Regions from separate parts of the Homo sapiens genome. Here all the other regions are linked to region 5. The links are contacts of gene promoters, found by promoter capture Hi-C in blood cells and fetal thymus (Javierre and others, 2016). All regions are on one chromosome and are shown on one strand. The core of a region is centred on a gene start or on the middle of the fragment in contact, and the rest is flanking DNA. Distances in the headings are between cores, read along the strand shown.

What was found. Contacts are between HindIII fragments. The CHiCAGO score rates a contact against its expected background, and 5 or more counts as called.
Region 1: a fragment that was not itself captured here is called in contact with the fragment with the promoter of ZBTB14 in region 5 in 1 of 17 cell types (non-activated CD4 T cells); the score reaches 5.4 in non-activated CD4 T cells.
Region 2: a contact is called between a fragment that was not itself captured here and the fragment with the promoter of ZBTB14 in region 5, in 1 of 17 cell types (activated CD4 T cells). The highest score is 5.5, in activated CD4 T cells.
Region 3: a contact is called between the fragment with the promoter of ANKRD12 here and the fragment with the promoter of ZBTB14 in region 5, in 4 of 17 cell types (non-activated CD4 T cells, naive CD4 T cells, total CD8 T cells and 1 more). The highest score is 12.6, in non-activated CD4 T cells.
Region 4: a contact is called between a fragment that was not itself captured here and the fragment with the promoter of ZBTB14 in region 5, in 1 of 17 cell types (naive CD4 T cells). The highest score is 5.2, in naive CD4 T cells.
Region 6: a contact is called between the fragment with the promoter of YES1 here and the fragment with the promoter of ZBTB14 in region 5, in 1 of 17 cell types (naive CD8 T cells). The highest score is 6.6, in naive CD8 T cells.
Region 7: a fragment that was not itself captured here is called in contact with the fragment with the promoter of ZBTB14 in region 5 in 1 of 17 cell types (total CD8 T cells); the score reaches 5.1 in total CD8 T cells.

The regions. Positions count from the first base shown.
Region 1 is chr18:9,474,549-9,477,738 of GRCh38, reverse strand. It overlaps RALBP1 (ralA binding protein 1), which reads right to left and starts at 2,226. Exons shown (of 10, transcript NM_006788.4): 1 at 2,048-2,226. RefSeq lists enhancers at 1,596-1,655, 1,394-2,262 and a silencer at 1,886-2,295. The HindIII fragment of the contact is 672 bases long and covers 1,187-1,858 here.
Region 2 is chr18:826,541-829,860 of GRCh38, reverse strand. No RefSeq gene overlaps it. Among named protein-coding and RNA genes, the nearest start is that of YES1, 16 kb to the right of the region's middle. The HindIII fragment of the contact is 4,537 bases long and covers 1-3,320 here.
Region 3 is chr18:9,134,657-9,138,044 of GRCh38, reverse strand. ANKRD12 (ankyrin repeat domain 12) reads right to left here and starts at 1,264. Exons shown (of 13, transcript NM_015208.5): 1 at 1,080-1,264. It overlaps NDUFV2-AS1 (NDUFV2 antisense RNA 1), which reads left to right and starts at 1,325. Exons shown (of 3, transcript NR_110772.1): 1 at 1,325-1,681. RefSeq lists silencers at 497-546, 587-986, 1,197-1,546, 1,897-1,986, 1,989-2,162 and enhancers at 1,117-1,166, 1,657-1,706. The HindIII fragment of the contact is 1,483 bases long and covers 164-1,646 here.
Region 4 is chr18:9,916,653-9,919,790 of GRCh38, reverse strand. All of the region lies in intron 1 of VAPA (VAMP associated protein A), which reads right to left. Among named protein-coding and RNA genes, the nearest start is that of VAPA, 4.2 kb to the right of the region's middle. The HindIII fragment of the contact is 5,213 bases long and covers 1-3,138 here.
Region 5 is chr18:5,294,271-5,297,509 of GRCh38, reverse strand. It overlaps ZBTB14 (zinc finger and BTB domain containing 14), which reads left to right and starts at 1,784. Exons shown (of 4, transcript NM_001243702.2): 1 at 1,784-1,858. RefSeq lists enhancers at 576-735, 453-1,138, 1,827-2,513, 2,514-3,201 and silencers at 946-1,365, 1,446-2,385. The HindIII fragment of the contact is 2,257 bases long and covers 382-2,638 here.
Region 6 is chr18:810,966-813,868 of GRCh38, reverse strand. YES1 (YES proto-oncogene 1, Src family tyrosine kinase) reads left to right here and starts at 1,627. Exons shown (of 12, transcript NM_005433.4): 1 at 1,627-1,755. RefSeq lists enhancers at 425-966, 967-1,509 and silencers at 1,241-1,750, 1,801-1,860, 1,931-2,020. The HindIII fragment of the contact is 10,737 bases long and covers 1-2,903 here.
Region 7 is chr18:9,619,366-9,622,310 of GRCh38, reverse strand. No RefSeq gene overlaps it. Among named protein-coding and RNA genes, the nearest start is that of PPP4R1-AS1, 6.0 kb to the right of the region's middle. The HindIII fragment of the contact is 2,301 bases long and covers 437-2,737 here.

The DNA of each region.
Region 1 (3,190 bases), core at 273-2,772, 4.2 Mb before region 5:
AAGAAACTGACCACTATCTCCTTTGTACATCCACTGTACCCGCATATGTTCTTCAATCAAAACAATCTTGTACTTGTTGACAGTTAAAGTAAGAGATAAGGTTCAACTACCCTGAAGGCAGGAACACTGCCTTCTGTATCTTTAAGTCCTCTTCACCTGGTCACAGTACTTTCTACATAGTAATTCCTGTATTCTAAATAATCTGCATTTTTCCTTGTACCCTCTTATACAAACTAACATAAGTTTCTATCAGGGATCTTTCAAAACAGAAACAATATTCTTTTGGGTTACATGCTGGGCCCGATCTCTTCTTGCCAAGCAAACAACTATGCAAATATAACTGTACAAATTAAAGTTATTATGCACTTTCTGATACCACTTTCCTATTCTAAATTAGGGGAGAAATAGTCTGGATAAGATCCATAATTAGAAACAATATCCTGAAGAGAAAGCAAACTAAGTTGTATTACATTGTTTCGAGATACCTTGTTTAAAGAGTCACTTCTCAAAAGCTACTACTGTTGGCAGGGCGCGGTGGCACACGCCTGTAATCCCAGCGCTTTGGGAGGCCTAGGCGGGCAGATCACCTGAGGTCGGGAGTTCAAGACCAGCCTGACCAACATGGAGAAAATGTCTCTACTAAAAATATAAAATTAGCCGGGCGTGATGGCGCATGCCTGTAATCCCCTCAGGAGGCTGAGGCAGCAGAATCGTTTGAACCCAGGAGGCAGAGGCTGTGGTGAGCTGAGATCATGCCATTGCACTCCAACCTGGGCAACAAGAGCGAAACTCTGTCTCAAAAAATAAAAAACTAAAAAAAAAAAAAAAAAGCTACTGTTAACTAACCTACCCCACTTGGATCTACCAGATACTTTGAATGAGAGGTGGAAACCACTCTACTGACCTCCTTCCTACCCCTACTACCGCCACTCCAGCTTACAGTAATTATTTTCACAAAGACAGAAAGGAGTTATCAAATGACCACAATAACTCTAAAAACAGAAAGTGAGGTGATCTTTCTTATTCACAGTCCCACTTATTCATTTAGAAATGCTGAGCACCAAAACAAAACCTTATCACAAGTTCAGTATTTCGTTAATAACTGCCAAGTATAATGGAATACTCCCCAAAGTACTGCAGCATTAGAACATGACCACTCCACTAAATTAAAAATTCAGCGAAAGCTTTTCTAACAAGGCTGGATGGAGCACTAACTCAACGGCCAAACGGCTGCACTTCCTGTATATGCACGTTCAAAACACCTCGAATTAACATGCTAGGGACCTTGAAGAATTGTACTAGGCCTTGCTCAAGAGGAAGGCTTTGTAATACTGAATCCCAAAACTTGAAACAGCAGAATTACTTCAGGGAAGACGGAGGTGTTAAATATTCTGTAAAACCTGTTTCACTCTCACAACGATCAGTTTTAAAAAAAAGAGGGAGAACACTGACCTCATTAAGAGCATTCTGACAACACACATAGTTGAACATGAGTTGTGAAAAGAATTTTCAACTTCAGATCTGTCTGTCCATTCCCACTGAAACCTGAAGGAAGGATCGCAGCACCCAAAGGCGCCCACTGCTCAGTGCCAGCGGTGGGCGACACCAGGAGCCTGTCCTGGTCCCCTGGGTAAGCCCTGGAGCCTGGCCACTATGCCGGGCACGATCCACCAACCGTGAGGGCTGGGTCCCCTAGCCTCTGTCCAGGCGCCCCCCAAGAGCTTCCCCGAGGCCTGGGGACTCCTAACTCTCCACCCCCGGCCCCCGAGAGCACCACAAACGAGGACGCCACGAAGGGAGGCCCGTCGGCCAGTGGGAGGGACGCACGGCCAAGGGGGGCGAAAACTGGGGCGAAGCTTTCCGGGGAGGAACCCACGCCAGGGGCAGCCACGCCCCCCACCCCCAACTTCAAACCCGAGCGCTGCGAGCACCGAGCCCCACACGCTGCCTGACAGACGCGGGCGCGAGGCCGGCGCGGGAGAGGGTTCCTCGGGCACTCCAGGGGTATCGCCGCGACCCTAGCACGCGACCGCTCCCTGCGACTGACCTGTGCCTGCCGCCGCGCGACCGTCCGCCCCGCCGCAGCCTCCGCCTCCTCGCGCTCACGCTGCCGCCGCAGCCACCGGAGCCGCCTCCTGCGCTGCGCCCCAGGCCGGCCTCGGGCGCCCCATTCCCACCCCGCCCAGCCTCTGCCTGTTTACAATGATTGGGACGGAACGGGACGAGGCGGTCCAGCGCGCACGCGCATTCCCTCCTCCCGCCGCAGCCGGCTTCCCGGATCCTCCTCTCCGCTCAGACGGCTGAAGCCGTCAAGGGCAGGCGACCTGGGCTCTCGCGCGGGGCGCGCTGGGAGGCGTAGTTCCCAAGGCCCCGGCGTCCAGCCAGCCCGAAGGCCTCTCGCCAAGGAAGCAAACTACAACACCCAGGAGGCACCGCGCCCCCTTCGTCCCCAGGCTCGCTGAGGAGACTGAAGAAGAGCGCGAGAGAACGCGCCGAGGGCCAGTGCTCTGCAGGCGCCTGCGCAGTCGGTGGCCTTGCGGGTTTCGGGGACGGACGGCTTACCCCGGTGTGGTGCTGGCGAAGGTGGCTCGCGGGCATCTCCTGCAACGGCCTTGAGGATGGAAAGGGCTTTCCTCTCCACGCTCTGGCCAGCCTGCGCCTCAGCTCCCGAAGTTGAGAGCTTTCCTTGCGCCAGCGTGCTTTAGTCGTTCCAACCAGTTAAACCAGACTGGGGGCCGCCCGGCTGGCCGCTGGGTGGGGCGGCTGCCCCGCCTTCGACTGGGTGTGGGATTGGAGGAAAGAGCGCCGTGGGCCTGTAGGGATAGGCGGGAATAAACCTCTGTCGGGAACATCCACGGAATTCCTGAAGCGGGTGTGGGCTTCTGCAGGGCTTCAGCGCGCCCCCGGCTCAGCAGTTACCGAGCAGCCCCCGAGGAAAGCTGCCCAGTCCGTGTTTGGCTGGCAGTAGAGATAACTGAATTTCTTCGAGAAGCCTTTCACCCAGGCTTGTTGAGTTGCTCTGCTAATGCGTAGCGAAGGCTGGAAACGGCTTCAGCAGTCTTCGTGTTTTCTGAAATGTGGCAGTTTATTAGGGGAGAGGAGGGACTTGGAATAGACGACCCTACCTGTCACTCGCATTCCTACGTGCAGCACTCTGTGGCACTTCGTTGCCCGTTTAGATTGGCCGCTG
Region 2 (3,320 bases), core at 166-2,665, 4.5 Mb after region 5:
AACCTCTCGGGCTCACGCGAGCCTCTCACCTCAGCCTCCCAAGCAGCTGGGACTACAGTCATGTACCACCACACCCTGCTAATTCTTTTTCTTGCCCAAGCTGGTCTCAAACTCTTGAGCTCAAGCAGTCCGCCTGCCTCGGCCTCCCAAAGTGCTGCAAGTACAGGCTTGAGCCACCTCGTTTGGCCTCTAGCTCAGTAATTAATCTGACACTTGGTGACTGGCATACTGGTTTGCATTTCTCATTCCTCAGTTTCCTCGCCTGTAAAATGGGGGTAGTGACATCTACCTATTCATCTTTTAAGATTGTTATACGGATCAAATGTGATAATAAAATAATTTGAAAAATATAAAGTATTATTTGGCATAACGTAATATTATATTTGTGCCACTGAAATCTAAATATGTCATGATGCAAACATACTGTATATTTTATTGATTGAGTCAACCATCATGTCTTGTTTAGTTGTTCATAGAAACTATTTTAGAATGAAAGGTTAAAAAGGCAACATAATTAAGAAACACAAAGGAAAAGAAGACATTTGACTTCTGCTATTATAACTTCTCCAAAGTTTCATTTCAAATCAAATAAACATTTTTGCATAAATAAAACTTAGTTGTTCTTAAACTTTGTATATTAAAAATATACAGATTTTCGGCCAGGCGTGGTGGCTGATGTCTGTAATCCCAGCACTTTGGGAGGCTGAGGCGGGTGGATCACCTGGGATCAGGAGTTCGAGATCAGCCTGATCAACATGGAGAAACCCCATCTCTACTAAAAACACCAAATTAGTCAGGCGTGGTGGTGCATGCCTGTAATACCAGCTACTCGGGAGTCTGAGACAGGAGAATCGCTTGAAGCCGGGAGGTGGAGGTTGCGGTGAGCCTAGATCACGCCATTGCATTCCAGCCTGGGCAACAGAGCCAGACTTCGTCTCAAAAAAAAAAAAAATATATATATATATATAATATATATATACACACACACACAGATTTTCTTATAGGGCTACAGAATTTAGATACATAACTTATGTTTTTCTCAGAGACAACAATACTAAATATTCTTTTTTTTTTTTTTTTTTTTTTTTTGAGACGGAGTCTCGCTCTGTCGCCCAGGCCGGACTGCGGACTGCAGTGGCGCAATCTCGGCTCACTGCAAGCTCCGCCTCCCGGGTTCACGCCATTCTCCTGCCTCAGCCTCCCCAGTAGCTGGGACTACAGGCGCCCGCCATCGCGCCCGGCTAATTTTTTGTATTTTTAGTAGAGACGGGGTTTCACCGTGTTAGCCAGGATGGTCTCGATCTCCTGACCTCATGATCCACCCGCCTCGGCCTCCCAAAGTGCTGGGACTACAGGCGTGAGCCACCGCGCCCGGCCCTAAATATTCTTAAAATTTTTATCACATGCTTACTACATACCAGGCACTATACTAGGAATTGAAGACAGGAATGTAAATGAGGCTGGGCGTGGTGGCTCATGCCTGTAATCCCAACACTTTGGGAGGCCAAGGCCTGAAGATCACTTGAGCCCAGGAGTCTAAGACCAGCCTGGGCAACATGGAGAAACCACTCCTCTACAAAAAAAAAAAAAAAAAAAAAAATATATATATATATATATACACACACACACATATATATCCATATATATATGTATATATATACATATATATATATATATATATACGTATATATATATATATAAAAATTAGCCAGGCATGGTGGCACGCGCCTGTAGTTCCAGCTGTTCAGGAGGCTGAGGTGAGAAGATTGCTTGAGCCTGGGAGGTCGAGGCTGCAGTGAGTCGAGATCACACCACTGCACTCCAGCCTGGATGACAGAGACCCTGCCTCAAAAAAAAGAGAAAACAGAAATGTAAGTGAATGGTTTCTGCAATGCAGGAGTATCACAACTCAATATTTGGAAAGACTATTTATCTGATAAAATCAAAGAAGTAGTAGTGGTATGCCGTATTTATTAAATGCATTAATATTTCCTATTAGCCAGGTGCGGTGACTCACGCCTGTAATCCCAGCACTTTGGGAGGCCAAGGTGGGCAGATCACCTGAGGTCAGGATTTCAAGACCAGCGTGGCCAACATGGTGAAACCCCATCTCTACCAAAAACACAAAATTAGCCAGGGGTGGTGGCACGTGCTGGTAATCTCAGCTACTCGGGAGTCTGAGGCAGGAGACTTGCTTGAACCCGGGAGGCAGAGGTTGCAGTGAGGTCAGGCAACTGCACTCAAGCCTGGGTGAAAAAACGAGTCAAAAAAAAAAAAAAAAGAGGGAGACAGAGAGAGAGAGAGAGAGAAGGAAGGAAGGAAGGAAGGAGGGAGGGAGGGAGGGAAGGAAGGAAGGAAAGAAAAGAAAGAGACAGAAAGAGAGAGAGAGAGACGAAAGAAAGAAAGAAAGAAAGAAAGAGAAAGAAAGAAAGAAAGAAAGAAAAAGAAAGAAAGAAAGAAATCTTCCCGACTGCCTTCAGTGTGAGACACTGGCTTTTTCCCTGACTTCATTGGCTTCCTGGTTTTCAGGCCTTCAAACTCTGCCTGGACCTACCCTACCTGCTCTCCTGGGTCTATAGCTGTTGACTCACCCTACAGATGCTGGGACTTCTCAGCTGCCATAATCATGTGAACCAATTCCTTCTCATAAGTGTCTTTCTATGTATATTACATCCTACTGGTTCTGTTACTCTGTAGAAGGTAATGTTCACCCGAGAAAATTTCCAAAAAGCAACGGAGAATGAAGAAATAAGGATTCTGTAACATTTCATCATTCATGTCTGAATAGAGTAAAAACAAATGGTTGAGGCCCGGCATCGTGGCTCACGCCTGTAATCCCAGCACTTTGGGAGGCTGAGGTGGGCAGATCATGAGGTCAGGAGTTCGAGACCAGCCTGATCAATATGGTGAAACCCTGTTTCTACTAAAAATACAAAAATTAGCTGGGTGTGGTGGCACATGCCTGTAATCCCAGCTACTCAGGAGGCTGAGGCAGGAGAATCGCTTGAACCTGGGAGGCAGAGGTTGCAGTGAGCCAAGATCGCGCCATTGCACTCCAGCCTGGGCGACGGAGTGAGACTCTGTCTCAAAAAAAAACACAAATGGTTGATTACAGTCATAATACTATCACCTACCCATTGTTTGACCTTGAGAAATTCACTTACTCTATCTGAGATTCATTCATTCATTCATTCAACAAATACTTACAGAATACCTTTTCTGTACCAGGCACTGAAAGTACCGTGTTAGGCACCAAAGGTATCAAGGTTGATAAGATGAAAGTCCCCACCCTTCAAGGAGTTCAGTAGAGTGCGACCTGG
Region 3 (3,388 bases), core at 15-2,514, 3.8 Mb before region 5:
ACTTCACCTTAGTTCGCAGTTTAACCACGGGTGTCCAGTGGAAATTACAATCCCGGTGACTACACTGCTTTAAATGTTTCCTAAGGTTTCAACGAGTGCAACAGTAACTTCCTATCCCAGACAGCGTCTTACTGTTATTACTAAAACAGCTGTCAGCTAAGCTTCGCATACCTCTTTGTACAACCGTTTATTCAACGCTTTGGGATCTGTAAGGATGCGTCACTCCACATCACTCCTCAAAACGAGATCTAAGAACCTGACGTGCTCCAGGGGTCTTGAAGCATCACAAGTGGGTACTTGAAAAACGATGACGGGAACTGCCTGTCCAATGCGGCAAGGTTATTTTACACTGGCATTTAAGACAGAACTGTAGAGTGGCTGCTCTTTCCCCGGACACTACTAAAGCAGCAATTTCCCCTTCTTGATTTCATCCACCTCTCCCAGGACCCGGGTACCTCCGACGCTCCCGGCCCGAGCGGCCGCGGCAGACTCCCCGGCGTCGGCGCACGCTCGGCGGCTGGCGGCGGGAACGCGCGGCGGGCCGGGCGCGCCCCCGCCCCCGCGGGTCCGACCGCCGCACGCCAGCGGCGCCCTCTCGGCCGCGCACACTCACACTCGCACGCACACGCTCCTCCGGCCCCGCCATGTTCCGGGAGGCGGCGGCAGCCCAGCCCCGCCAGCCGCGGTGAGGGGCGCCCGCGACGAGGCCAGCTCGCGGCCCTCCGCCCGGCCCCCGCCCCGCCCCGCGCAGCGCCCCCGCCCAGTTGGCGGCTCCCACCTGCGCCGCGGCTCCTCGCGACGCCGGGAGGGGCGGCGGCGGGCGGGGCCCCGGCGGACCCGCGCCGGGGGGCACTAACGGCCTGTCACTGTCAGGCGAGCTACGGCTCGGGCCAGGCTGGGCGGGCGGCGCGTCGGGACCGGGGGGGGCGGGCAGGGCGCGTCCCCTACCTTGCTCTGGGGAGGGGGAACGGGAGCAGCGCAGAACTGAGGGGATCTCCTCCCTGGCGCCGGGGACAAGCTCGAAACCGCGCCCCTCCTTCCTCCTTTCCTGTCGCCACGCCCCCCTCACCCGTACGGACCCGAGGCAAGGCCGGCGCAGGAGGCTTCACCCCCGGAACGAGTGCTTCGGCGTAGCCGTCGCTGTCGTTGTCTTCGTCGCCGCTGCAGCCGCCTGTAAAGCCGCCGGAGCCGGGCTTGAAAACATCTCCGGTCTCGGTCCGTCTCTCACCACAGCCTCCTCGCTCCCAGGACAGCGTCGCCCCGCGATTGGCTGCGACGCGAGCACGTGACACCCGCGGACACGTGACTACCGCGGGCACGGGACGGGCGGCGTGACCGCCCCGCCCCCCGGCGCCCGCCCCTCCTGCTGCTCAGCCAGGCTCCGCGAGCCGCAGGGCGGGGAAGCGGGACGTACCAAGCGGCAGGCGGCGGAGGGGTGCGGGCCGGAACTCCGCCCTTCGTGCTGGTCGGTCTCCACGCCCCACTCGGACTAGTGTCACCGCCTCCCCGCCGCAGACACTATCCGACAAAGGAGGGGGAATCAAAGGCTGGGCGAAGAGGCAGGGCAGGCGCCGGTGACGCTGCTGGGCAAGCGGGCTCTGCAGTAGCATTTGTGGCGACCGTGGCAGTGGCTGTGACTGGAAGCTTCTGGAAATGGCGGCGATGAGGACCCCCACATAGGGTATTCACCTGTTATTTTTACACGGGGTGGGTGGACGAGCGTGATCCAACTCAGGCAAAATGACGCTGCGACCGCAGCCCGAGGACTAGGCGAAGTTCCCCCGCTAAGCCGGCGGCGGCCGTCTGGCCCCGCACCAGGCCGGAGAAGCTGCACCTACGCCCAGAGCCCGCGGCCCCCCGCCTCAGGTGGGGCCCTGGGCCCCGCCCCGAAAGCGCGGTAGCGTGCACCTGCCCTGGCACCAGGGGGTCTAGAGCGCGTCCCCTCCCAGCCACGCCTTCCAGTGGCCTTTTTAAAGAGGAATTCAGTGCACCCTCCCACACGTAGTGTTGGGGATTTGAGAGGGAGCTGCTCAGGTACTAGGAAGGGTGCCGGAGGAAAATTGACCGTCGCAGCGTGGCAGCAGCGTGTACTCACTCCCTTCTGGGCGCGTTATTTACGTAGAGGTTAATCTGCAACAACAGCGTCTGTTTATGACTTAGTGCATGCAGTTACAAGTTTATGTTACACTGTCCTTTAACGTCTTGATGAACTGAGGGTTCAGGTGTGATCACAGCAGATGAAGTGACATTCAGACCTGACAGGGACGGCGAGGTCCCATCAAATTACTATGTAAAGCATAAACCTGCATTAAAGATCAGGAGTTTTTCCTTTCCTGGGTTCCTGATTTCTCCCACCTACAAATCTTTAGGGTCAACAAGACTAGAAAAAGAGCACCTTATGGCTAGAGGTGGAATAGTGTTACATTTAACTTGGTTATTTATGATGTGAAATACAAAGAAAAAAACAGTCGCCTATGAGAAAGTCAGGAGAGCTCCAGGGTAGGACATTTTCATTGTTACTTTTTTGTGCCACTTGGAAAATTAACTGTTGTTTACCTTCTCTCAATTAAAAAAAAAATCTTAAAGACATACTTAAAAATAATCGTTATAGCCGAGCGCAGTGGCTCACGCCTGTAATCCCAGCAATTTGGGAGGCTCAGGCGGGCAGATGGCTTGAGCCCAGGAGTTTGAGACCAGCCAGGCAACATAGTAAGACCCTGTCTCTAAAAAAATATATGAAAATTAACCAGGCTGGTGGCGCCTGCCTGTGCTCCCAGCTGCTCAGGAGGCTGAGGCCAGGGTATTGCAGTGAACCAAGATCACACCACTGCACTCCAGCCTGGGGACACAGCCTGTCTCAAAAAAAAAAAGCATAATTACTAGTGAATAGTCTGTTTCAAGTACAGGTGACTTTGAGAAATCGAGGATTAGATTAATATAAATTATTCATGCATTAAAGCTGGCTAATGCAAAACTAATGTACTACAGCTAATTTCTTAAATACACAAAAGGGTTTATCCTTTTTTCTAAGTTGTAATATCCATACCACTGCAGAGTACATAATCATACTTCCAATCCCTTCACCCAATTATTTTTTGTATACTTGCAGTGTCAGAATAGCTAAGGATAATGTCAAGTGTTTTGGACCTTTCTTTTTTAAAAATGGTAATGCTTAAGCCGGGCGTGGTGGCTCACGCCTGTAATGCTTGCAGTGAGCCGAGATCCCACCACTGCACTCCAGCTTGGGAGACAGCGAGACTCCGTCTCAAAAAAAAAAAAAAAAAAAAAAAGGCTTCTAGAGACAACTACCATATCCTCCTTAAACCTACAGTGTGCTTGAGGTCTTACCAGTTGGAAATACAGTAACAATTATGTGTTTTAAATAATG
Region 4 (3,138 bases), core at 174-2,673, 4.6 Mb before region 5:
TCCTCCCCTCACTTAAAAACCCTAGTGGCTCAGGATAAAAACAAAACTCCTAACTTGACCTACTAAACCAGCACTACATTCATCTTGACTATTTTCACCACTGCCACGCCGACCTCTTTCAGTATGGTAAATGTTTCACAGTCCCTCCTGCTACCGGATATTTGAACATGCATTTTCCTTTCTTCTTCACCAGGATAACTTTTACTCATTGTTGGAATCTTAGTTCAACTGTGACAGCCTGATCGAAGACCCTTATTTTACATTCTCGTAGCACTATATAGCTCTTCAGGGGTACACTTTATTCTTCTGATTATTTTATTAGTATCTATCTCTCTTGTTAGAACTGCCCCATGAAAACATGGCTTGTGTTTCACTCACAACTGTAGTTCCAATATTTATTCATCATACCTGACATGTAGCAGATACTCAAATCTAATCAAATTAGATCCATAATTGAATGAATTTTAAAAATAAATGAATTTGGAAGTAGAAACACATTGAAGTGGACAAAGGGATTATGTCAAAAATAGAAACACAGATTTTAATTATTAGATATGCATATTGTTTCTGGTGTGAGTAATCATGATGCCACTAAAAAATAAAAATAAAGCCAAGTGCAATGGCTCAGGCCTGTAATCCCAGCACTTTAGGAGGCCAAGGCAGGAGGATCACGCAAGGTCAGGAGTTCGAGATCAGCCTGGGCAACACAGCGGCACCCCCATATGTACGTAAAAAATTAGCTGGGCATGGTAGCATGCACCTATAGTCCTAGCTATTCAGGAGGATCACTTGAGCCCAGGAGGTCACGGCTGCAGTGAGCCAAGAACGTGCATGCCACTGCACTCCAGGTTGAGCAACTGAGCAAGACCCCATCTCAAAAATAAAAATAAAAAATATGGGAAGAAGAGTAGGCATGGGTAGTAAAAATTTTGAGATATTTTGAGTTTAGAATATCATATCTGTGCAATATTCAAATCTAAATAGTGAATAAGTTGTTTGAGTATGTGCTCTTGACTGACGGTAAAATGTGAATTAAAACAGACTTGGGGGTGTAGCAATACCTGCAGAGAGCAAGGAAGATAAAGAGAAAACCTCAAAACAATGAAATGAACAAAGAAAGTTCACAGAGTGAGATAAATGAAACCAAATCAGAATCTCAGAAACATGAGCATTTGAGGAAAATGCCACAAATAAGACAATAAATGGAGCAAATAAGAAAATTAGAAGACAATGCTGTTATAGAAGCCAGAAGAATTGAGGGTTTTTTTTAGAGAAACTGTCGGTACTGTCAAGAGCCAGGGGGAGGTCAAGTAAGATAAAAACTGGAAATGATTAAGTTAGCAATAAGTAGTGAGAGGATAAAAGTACCGTGGACTAAGGAGAGAATAAAAGGTGAGTAACTGGAAAAACAGTGAATATGGACTATTTTTCCAAAAAGTCTGAATGCAAAGGAAATGAAGGACAGGGAGAGACACATACTAGAAAGAGTTATGGTCAAAGAAGTACATGTCTGCTCATTTGTTTTTAAAATCAAAGACTCTGGTGTATTTATATGTTAAAACAATGCAGCCAGTGATTGAAAACCAGCAGGAAAACATCTCATGGAACATGGTCTGAGTCATAAGGAATTTTACCTTAGCCAGCAAAAATAGAGGAACAAAGAACCTTGGGTATGAGCAGGGTTTTTCTTTCTCAGGGAAGAAAGTATGGATGTGTACAGACTAACAGGTGTTACAAGAGGAAGGCACATCATGGAAGAGATGGTATGTCTTACTGAAAAAAAAAAATCTGACTTTTATTCTGTGAGCAATTGAGAGTTACCTAAAAACTAAGGAATGGAGTAATATATGATTAAAGATTACATTCATGTCTTTAGAGCCCCAGGCGTTTTGTATAGCCACTGGGAAACATGAAGAGCCGACTGGAAACACCTAAAAATGTGCTAAATATCCATCCAGAGGAGTATTCTCTAATTTCCCCCCCGCCCCGTGCTGCTTCTATGCAGATGCACTAGCTGATGTTAACACCATACGTCCCTCGATCCCTCAGAGAGCTTAATTTTCTTTGTTGATTTATTGTTATCGGCCACTCTCAACATAAGGATTTTGGTTTATTTTCGTCTCTCTCTGATCATTAAGAATATATTTGAAATTTATTTTAGCATTTTATAAACTTTCTTCTTCAAACTTTTCTACAAAACTGCTAATAGGGGTCAGGTGCGGTGGCTCACGCCTGTAATCCCAGCACTTTGGGAGGCCAAGGCAGGCGGATCACCTGAGGTCAGAAGTTCGAGGCCAGCCTGGCAAAATCCCGTCTCTACAAAAAATTCAAAATTAGCTGGGCATGGTAGTGCATGCCTGTAGTTCCAGCTACTCTGGAGACTGAGGCAGGAGAATTGCTTGAACCCGGGAGGCAGAGACTGCAATGAGCCGAGATCGAGCCACTGCAACAGAGCAAGACTCCGTCTCAAAAAATAAAAAAATTTAAAAAAACTGCTAATAGGTAGAAAAATAAAATGTGTAATACATTATAAATGGAATTTTATCATGTAAAAAATTTTAAAGACAAAAAAAATCTTTCACATAAAATACCAAGTTTCAAATCTGAAATCTAGGTAAAATTACTTCCAAGGTTTAAACAGAATTTGAAGTAAAGCAGCGTCTACTTCTTTTTCTTTACTAACACAAGTGATCTACTTCAGAATTCATTACATCGTAAATGCACTTTTATATGTTAACGACTGTATAAAACAAACTTTTTTTTAAATACTGAGGTATACAGAAAAATGTACTGAAATAGTTGGTGTCTGCTTTTGCAAAATTGTGCAACATACTGTTAATTCATCTTCAAGATGCTTGTTAGGTGTATAAAAGAAAAACCATCCAATCTCAGAATGATTACCTGAGTCACTCCTGGAGAAACCATCTCAAACTCAGAATCAATAACTAAAATAAACCTACTAGAAGATGACAAAGAATTTTGCAAAACTGTCTTCTAAAAGTCCTTCACTTAGAAAGTTTTGAATGACTTAGGGTAAGTCAGTTAAATGATTTTTTTCTATCATAAACTAAGCCCAAGTAGACTGTACATTCTAAATGAATCTCCTCAGTGTTGAACTGTGCATTTAAATACACAAAG
Region 5 (3,239 bases), core at 535-3,034:
GGCATTATTTCACTTAATCCTTACAAGTGCCTTATTAGGTGCTTTCCATAGCTCTCCTTCAGCTGAGGTTTAGAGAAGTTAAACAATTTACCCAATATGTGAACTGGATATGTCTGACTCTACAACCGGTCTCTTCCATCCTATTTCCTCCATATAAGCCGTAACTTGGGTGCTTTTGTGAACATCAAAAAAGATGCGTATAAAGTCGCCTTGGGGAACGTTAAACCAAAGTCAATTAACATTACAAAATCAACTGAGGCCATATAGAACTTCCTTTAGAAAATTAACACATCCAATCATCATATTATTTCCCAAATGTTTACTTAGGTGCCTGTTGCAAGCACTATCTTATGTCATCTTCAATAAGCCCAAGAGGAAGCTTCTGCTCTAATCTTTAGATATTAAATTACGCGTTTCGGGGAAACTTCGCGTGTGAGGTAAAGCAACATGAGCGACTCTAAGGCGGCGCGGCATTGCTGTCCGGCCTCCTGCATCTCGGTGAGCAGAAAACGCGGGAGCGGGAGGGACTTCCCAGCTCCCGACGCCAGACACAGGCACAGCCGCCGCGTCAGAGGGAAGGCGACGTGGTTCAACAGCAACGGAGCCATTACTGGCGCTGAGCAGGGATGTTAAGGACAGAGCCAAGTTATCAGAGCTCTCCGAATCGAGTCCAGGGTCTGGACTGCCACAGACGGGTCGCCGCCTCCAGCCCCTGGACTTTTCCTTGGAGTGTCCGGGCGCGGACCTACTAGCTCCGAAGCCCTATGGGTGATCCCTTTCTGCTGGGCAACTGGGGTTGCGCTTTACACTACAAATCGAAGACGTCGCTTTTTCCATTTGTTCTGCAAGTGTTTATTGTGCACCGTCCACTCCCCCACAAACTCAATGTGCCGGCGGCAAGAGGCAAGACCGCAGACCCGTGGGCGCGCCTCCCGGTGTCGGCCGGTGTGCGCGGAGGGCGAAAGTGGCCGGGGCGCCCGCTCCGAGACGCGGCAGAGCCCCGCAGCCTCAGCGCCCGGCCTGCGCGCGCCCGGGGGAGGCTCTGGCCCACGCACATGCACACGCACGGGAGCGCTGGCTCCCGCGTCCCCGGCGCTGCGCCGGCGCCGGGCGCGGGCGGAAGCCCACGAACCAGGGCGGGAGGGAGCTTGAGGCGGGGCGGGTGTCCGCGAGCAGCGCTCGTGCTTAAGTTCCCTGGCTCCCGAAGCCCCGCCCTTGCCCCGCCCACTCCTTCTCCCGCGCGCGGGCTCCGCGCGCCCCAAGCCGCGCGCGTGCGCGCGCGTGCGCAGGCCAGGGCCCTCCGGGGGCGGCCCCGTAGTCTCCAACGAAAGCGTCGGCAAGGGCCCGGATTAACCCTTTCTTTGCTCGCCCACTTAGAGACCCGGTCGGGTTCCGTGCCTGCGCAAGCCGGCGGCGCGCCTTCCCCCCAGCCCGCACCGCGCATGCACGGGAAGGGGGGGGCGGTGGGGGTGTTCACGGCCGGCTAGACATTCTGTGCTCGTGCAGGAGGAGGGCTGCTACCATCAGGGACGTGCACGATTTCCCCCACCCCGCCCCCTCCCCAAACTCCAAAAAAAAATCCAAAACACACTGCCACCCACCGTGCCCCCGCGCCCCGAGCCCCTCCGGTCCCGGCCTGCGTTTGCTAGCGAGCGCGGGGAACCCACGGCAGTGTCTGTGCCTGTGCCAGGCTGCAGGTAAGCGCGGGCCAGGGTGCGGAAGGGGCTGGGGCCGTCCGCAAGGCGGGCGCGGGGGCGGCCGGCGGCTGGCGGGGCGGCCCGGAAGACGCGCGTTCTCGCCGAGCTCTGGGGCACCAGCCAGCTCCAGGATGTGCGGCGGCCGCCAGCGGCGCGGCGCGGTGCGAGCGGGGACGGGCGTGGGCCAGGGTTGGGCGTGGGGCCGGGGCGCCCCGGGGGCCGCGCGGGCCGGCGAGCGGGCTCGGGGAGCGGCCAGGCGGCGGCGGCCCCGCGCGCGCGCTCGCAGAGCCTCGGCGGCCGAGTTCATGGCCGCCCCCGCTCGCACCGCCGCAGTGCACCGCGGTGGGGGTGGGGACGGCCCGAACCCAGCGCGGAGCGCGGCCCGCCGGGCGCCGCCCCTCCGAGCCGCGGGCCCCGCCGCGCCGCCTACAGCCGCCGGCGGAGGAGGGGGCCGGGACCCAGCGCACGCACTCCCGGGTGCGCCCGCGGAGCTTGGGTTAGCCGGCCGCGCGCCGCCCCCGCCCCCGGCCGCGGGAGGGCGGGGGAGGGCCCGGCGCGAGCTGGCCGGGGAGTGCGCGGGGCGCGAGCTCCGGGCTCGCGGGCGGAGCGGGGCGCGGCGCGGCGCGGGGCTGCGGAGCCGGCCGCACGCCCGCTCCCGCTCGTCGCGCCGCCGGGGCCGCCGCGGGCCGCAGTCCCTCCCTGCGCGCTCCGAGCCGCGGTCCCAAGCCTGCGCTCGACGTCTGATTATGAAAGGGAAAGTGGCCCTTTCACCACCTGGCTCCCAGGCTGGGAGCTTTTGTCTGGGAAGGAGTGCAAACGGCCTCCTCCACTCCCCACCTCCCAGGCCCAAAGAAATTGAGAGGGAGGACTCGATACGCCTTGAGGGCTTCTTGGGTCTGCGCTTGGCTCCCTGCTTCCTCCCGACTCCGAAGTTGCAAGCTTGCAACAAGGAAGTCGTGCAGCCGCCATTGTCGGGCTGCCCGGGGCAGGGGAGGCGGCTGCAGCTGCTTATGTAAGTTTTTGGCTTTGCGGGAAGCCCGGCTCCCTGCACTGTAACGCGGCTTAGCGCGCCCGCAGTTTGGAGAGCAATTAGGAAGGGGCAGCCTTATTATGAAGGTGGTGTTGGGGCTACGTCTTTTCCTACACCTGCCTACACAGATGCTGGCAACAGCTGTCTTCCAGTTTTGACTCACCTGAACTGAGCAATTGGACATCTCAATGGCAAGGGGGGCGGGGCGGGGAGGAGGCGGCTTTGGACACACATGGTCTCTCTTCCAGGTCTCATACATCTTGAGAGAGAGAGGGGAGAGGGGCGAGTGGCCAAGTACACACTAGCCAAAACAACAACAACACATTGATATGTTGTCATAGCTAGTCTAAGGCCACTCCTCTCTCTGGTCCCATGCACTTTTATCCCACAAGCCCTAGGACGAGTTAGTGACAACAGTAGTAAGTGTCACAGTGTAAGGTTTTTGCTGGGCTGCCTAGCCTCTGGATGATTACAGGCCTGGGTGCTTCTAGGGAATAGAGAGGCAGAAACAC
Region 6 (2,903 bases), core at 378-2,877, 4.5 Mb after region 5:
TGCTGGGGTTACACGTGTGAGCCACTGTGCCCGGCCTATTTTAGAGGTGATTTTTGAGACTGAGTGTTTAGGAAGACGAAATTATCTCTATTTAGTGAAGAAAGGCAACAGCTCAAGGAATTTTCTATTTTAATAAAAGCTGAATATAGACCTACATAAAATTTTAAAGCCCTGAGACAGTCAATGACAAATGAAGTTTTAGTAGCTAAGAAAATACAGCATCGTTCCACATTATGTGTCTCTTTAACGCCTACGCCTACCTTTCGTTCATTTAGTGAGCTGAAGAAAAAAATGTTCAAACCCTTATATGCATTTCCTTAAGTTCCTAGAATACCGGAATACTGACACATATGATTGCACTATTTCCTATCCGTCGAAGATGATTCTGAATTTCACTAAAAACCGCAAAGGAAACCAATAGTCACAAAATAATTCTGATAACCCCACCAAAGAGGAAATAAAGAGAGGAAGTTACTCTAAAAGTCTGATAGGGCAAAAGTGACTGCAGCAGAAGGGCCTCAAGGTTCAGTCCATGAGGACCTTGATTAACCTTCATCTTTACGCCCCCACCCCATCCTTCCGGGTCCTCCCCCTTCTTCAACGACTGGCTTTACAAGGCTCATAGGAAAGGTGCGTGTATTCAGACGGACACGATTCCAGCTGTGGCTCCTCCACTTTCAGGGTCGCTGTTTCCACAGTTGACAAGCAGGAGAACCATACTTGTTGCACTTCCCTCACTGGGCTGCCGCCAGCATCATATAGAAAAACGCTGTCCCAACATAAGCCAAAGCCACCATGACTGGGATAGTCGCCAAACAGAACTCAGCTTCGGTTCCCCTCCCGGCAAGGCTGGTTCGACCTACAGTCAACAGGAAGCTCCTGGGGGCAGGGACAGGATCCCTGCCTCGGAAGGAGGCAAGACGTGAACGTTTTTTGGACGGCGATCAGGATGGTGATGAGGGTGTGAGTAACGCCCCCGGCTCACGCGGTTGGGCTTGAGATTTTACTACCAACGACAAAGGGTGCGGAAGCGTAGCGCTGAGAAGCAAACAGCCAACCAAAAAAACTCAACCCCGTCCTCCCCCACAAAAGCAAGCCCCAAAGCCCTGGCCACTACTGAGAGCTGGGCCAAGGAACAGAGAAAGGCAGAGGGGCAGAATCGGAGCGCTCCATTCAATCTCCGCGGCAGCCGAGCGTCGGTGGGTTCGCGGGTGGGAAGGGACGCCGCGGGCCTGCTCTCCGGGCAGGGAAGCACCTCCTCCTCACGCCCCCTCGGCCTGCACCGCCCCCGGGAATCCGCCCCGGACCCCGCCGCCATGTTGGGTCGGGAGAAGTGACACGGACCGGTCGCCTATCCTGACCACAGCAAAGCGGCCCGGAGCCCGCGGAGGGGACCTGACGGGGGCGTAGGCGCCGGAAGGCTGGGGGCCCCGGAGCCGGGCCGGCGTGGCCCGAGTTCCGGTGAGCGGACGGCGGCGCGCGCAGGTACCCGCAGCCCCCGCCCCCGCTAGAAGTCAGGGGGCGGGGCCGGGGGGGGGGGGCGGAGGAGGTGGAGAGTGAGGCCGAGGCGTGGGGAGCCCGGGAACTCCCTCCTCCTGAAGTAACGCGTCCCGGGCCGGCTCTGCCGTCGTTGCTGCCGCCGGGCGCCCCGGGACGAGGAGGTGGAGGAGGGAGAGGGCCCGCGGGCCTCGCCTCCGCCCTCCGCCACCTCGAGCTGCGGTAGCAGCGACTCATGAGAGCGCGGCCGGAGGACAGGTAAGGACCCGGTGGGGCCCCGCGGGCGGAGGGTTCCACCTCTGCCCGGACAGGGCTAGGCCCCAGCGCCCGGAGCCGCCGCCGCCGCCGCCGCCGCGGTTCCCCGCCCCCGCGGGCCCGAGTCGGGAAGTTGGGAAGAAACTTCTCCCCTCCCCCGGATCGCCCGGCGGGCTTGTCTCGTTCCCCGCGCTACCTGCTCGCCCCTGACTCGGTCTCTGCCCTGTCCAGACCTGCCGGGTCCCGCCCAAGTCCGACCTGAGGTTCCAGGGGCGTGGGGACACTCCCCACCCCTTGTCTTTGGGGTCGTGTGGACCGCCCGGCGACGGGGAGGAGAGGTTTATTTTTGCCCCTACGGCCGAAGTAGGGGCGAGGGAAGCGGCCCCTTTGGGTCCTAAAGGCTGGGGGTCTGTGTATCGGCCGACGCCGGTAGCAGCTGTGCGGGGAGAGGAGCGGGTGTGTGGGGCGAGTGGATGAGCCTTTCTGGCTTTACTTGGTTTGATTGAAAACCGCAACATGTTTAAAGTTTTCCTTTGTTTTGGGTTGGGGGTTGGGAAATTTACCATTCAGCGTCCACTTTTACGGAATCATGCCACTCCGCCTCCCGTTGCGTTCGGTTCCCTGTCCACATGTGTTAAAGAAAATTGTCTTAAAGTGTGTTTTTCTTCTTGATAATTGCTTCCAGCTTTCACTTTATTGGGCATGGGGCAGAGCTGTTTTAAGAAGCTCTTTGAAAATCAAGTCTGGTGTAGGGACTTTAGTTTTTGTTTTGTAATGAGTAGGACTTAACAGTTCGGATTTGGTTGAATCATTTTCTGCATAATTAATTGATACAGGCGTGGAATAACATACTGTATAATTATAAATTACTAAAGGAAATAATGAAAGTCTTTGGTGGAAGCACAATTTTATGTCCATTTATTATGTATATACGTTCCACGGGTGTGTGTTTTCACAGTCGATTTCACATGATATGATTATAGTATCTTCATGTATTATAACTGTAAGATTACAGTGCCAAAGATACCTTGATAATTTTAAATATTTAAACCATCCTGTTACACTTCTAAAGTTAAATTACGCACTAAGGAAAGTATTACTAAATGTATACACGTGACTGTGCATTTAAGGAAAAGTGCATGGTAAATCTA
Region 7 (2,945 bases), core at 338-2,837, 4.3 Mb before region 5:
TCAGGATGGTCTCAAGCTCCTGACCTTAGGTGATCCACCCTCCTCAGCCTCCCAAAGTGCTGGGATTACAGGCATGAGCCACCACGCCCGGCTAAACTTTTTTTTCTTTTTTCCCCCCAAGACGGAGTCTCCCACTGTCGCCCAGGCTGGAGTGCAGTGGCGCGATCTTGGCTCACTGCAAGCTTCGCCTCCCAGATTAATGCCATTCTCCTGCCTCAGCCTCCCGAGTAGCTGGGACTACAGGCGCCCGCCATCACGCCCGGCTAATTTTTTGCATTTTTAGTAGAGACGGGGTTTCACCATGTTAGCCAGGGTGGTTTCAATCTCCTGACCTCGTGATCCGCCCACCTCAGCCTCCCAAAGTGCTGGGATTACAGGCGTGAGCCACCGCGCCCGGCCTAGGCTAAACTTTTTTAAATATAGGACTTTGAAAGCTTTAAAAAATAGGTAAACATAAACTGTTTGGGGGTATTATCTCTAAATTTTTGGAGATTTTAGTTTTTTCTTTATACTTTTCTGGGCACTCCAAAAACATGTATTTTTGTAATTGGAAAATTCAGAAAAGAATAAATGTTACAAAGATGTAGAATTCCGGCCGGCCATGGTGGTTCACACCTGTAATCCCAGCTCTTTGGGAGGCCAAAGTGGGAGGATTGCTTGAACCCAGCAGTTCAAGACTAGCCTGGGCAACAAAGTGAGACCGCATCTCAAAAAAAAAAAAATATGTAGAATTCCACCCCTCCCAACACCTGCCACATACCTACAAGCAGCAGCAACAACAAAACCTCCTAAAAAACCAAGAACATCGTTTGAGGGAGAAGTGAGTTGGCACCTGAGTTCAAGATTGTCTACCTGGATGATTTGTCCGAATAATGAAATGGTGGCAAACTGCAGCCATTCAAGCCAAGGGCAGCTGGTGAGAGGACACTGTTAAGGCACTTGCTTGGGAATTTCACAGAATTGTGATGAACAAAATATTATATGAGAAAGATAATTTTTGTATACTTGGCCAGAATAATTGAAACAGGCTAGTTAAAAAGTTATTAGTATGGTTTTGAAGTGGTTAATATCTTGGTCAGGATATTGAGTGAGAAACGGAGTGAAGAGGTGACTCCTAAAATGTTTCAATGACAAAATCCTCAGGGAACAGTGATAACTTAGATGGAATTAGAGATTATACCAAGACCATACATGTTGAAAGACTAGAAGTTCTCTTAATGCGAAAGAAGTTGACGAAGGACCATTTTGACAGAAAAGCTATGAATGTGAGGATACGCAAACGCTATTGCCATTATTTAGAATCAGGATTCCAGTGTTTGAATACTAATTCCCCTATTTGCTTGCTTGCTTGCTTTCTTTCTTTTCTTTTTTTTTTTTTTTTTTGAGACAGTCTCACTCTGTCACCCAGGCCAGAGTGCAGTGGTGTGATCTCGGCTCACTGCAAACTCCACCTCCTGGGTTCAAGAGATTCTAATGCCTCAGCCTCCCGAGTAGCTGGGATTACAGGCATGTGCCACCACACCCAGCTAACTTTTGTATTTTTAGTAGAGACAGGGTTTCACCATGTTGGCCAGGCTGGTCTCGAACCCCTGGCCTCAAATGATCCACCCACCTCGGCCTCCCAAAGTGCTGGGATTACAGGTGTGAGCCACTGTGCCAGGTCATTTGCTTTTTGATCTTTGTCAAAATACCCAACCTTTCTGAGCTTCGATTTCCTTTATTTTTAAAATGGTAATATCAATTTCTACTTCACAGGGCTGTTTTAAATAATCAGAAAGCACATAAAAGTGCTTAACAGGCTGGACGCGGTGGCTCACACCTGTAATCCCACCACTTTGGGGGGCCGAGGCAGGTGGATCACTTGAGGTCAGGAGTTTGAGACCAGCCTGGCCAACATGGTGAAACCCCGTCTGTACAAAAAAAAAAAAAAAATATATATATATATATACAAAAATTAGCTGAGTATGGTGGTGGGCGCCTGTAGTCCCAGCTACTCAGGAGGCTGAGACAGGAGAATCGCTTGTACCCGGGAGGCGGAGGTTGCAGCAAGCTGAGATTGCAGCAAGCTGAGATTGTGCAACTGCACTCCAGCCTGGGTGATGGAGCGAGATTCCATCTCAGAAAAAAAAAAAAAAAAGAAAAAAAGAAAAAAAAAGAAAAAGCGCTTAACATGATGCCTGGCACACGCTCTGAAAAATGTTTCATATATACGGTAATATTACCATTGGGGGAACTGATGTGAAAGTGACATAGGACATCCTGGCACATCATTTGAAACTTCATGTAAATCTGTAATTGTTTCTAAATAAAAAGTTAGAAAATGTATTAGCTATCTAGTCTGGGAATTATATTGTGTCATTGTGCTAATATTTTTCCCACCAAAGGAAGGAACCAAGGACCAGAGACACAAGCAATTTGTTACAAACAGTTACAGAGAAGTGAAATGAGAATGGAAGTAATTTCTTCTGAATCATATTACCATAGAGCAGCCTTAGTGTGAAGGGAGCTTAGAGTCAGGGCAGTTAACCACTGAACTTATCTGGGTTTGAATATGTGGTTTGCTATGGTTTATTTCCTGGTTCAACTTGACTCATCCATTCAGATTCAGAATAATAAACATTTAAACATTTAAAATAATAAGCATCTAAAATGATAAGCATTTCCTCCACACGTACTCTGTGCCAGGCATTGTGGAAGCCTCTCCCATATTGCTTTGAATGGGATTGCAACTAAAGCTTTCTAAATTCTAAGAGAAAGGCACAAAGGAAATTTACTACTGCCACTCTAATCCATTTAGTGCTCACTGTTTAAACATCTTTGTTTTCTCTTAATGAAATTAAAATGTGTGGAACAAATTGTGTAGGATGTAGTACCTCATCAGTGGGGAATTCTTTTGCCTCTACTAACCTGGAGCACTGGGAAAAGCACGGGAGTAGGGAACATAG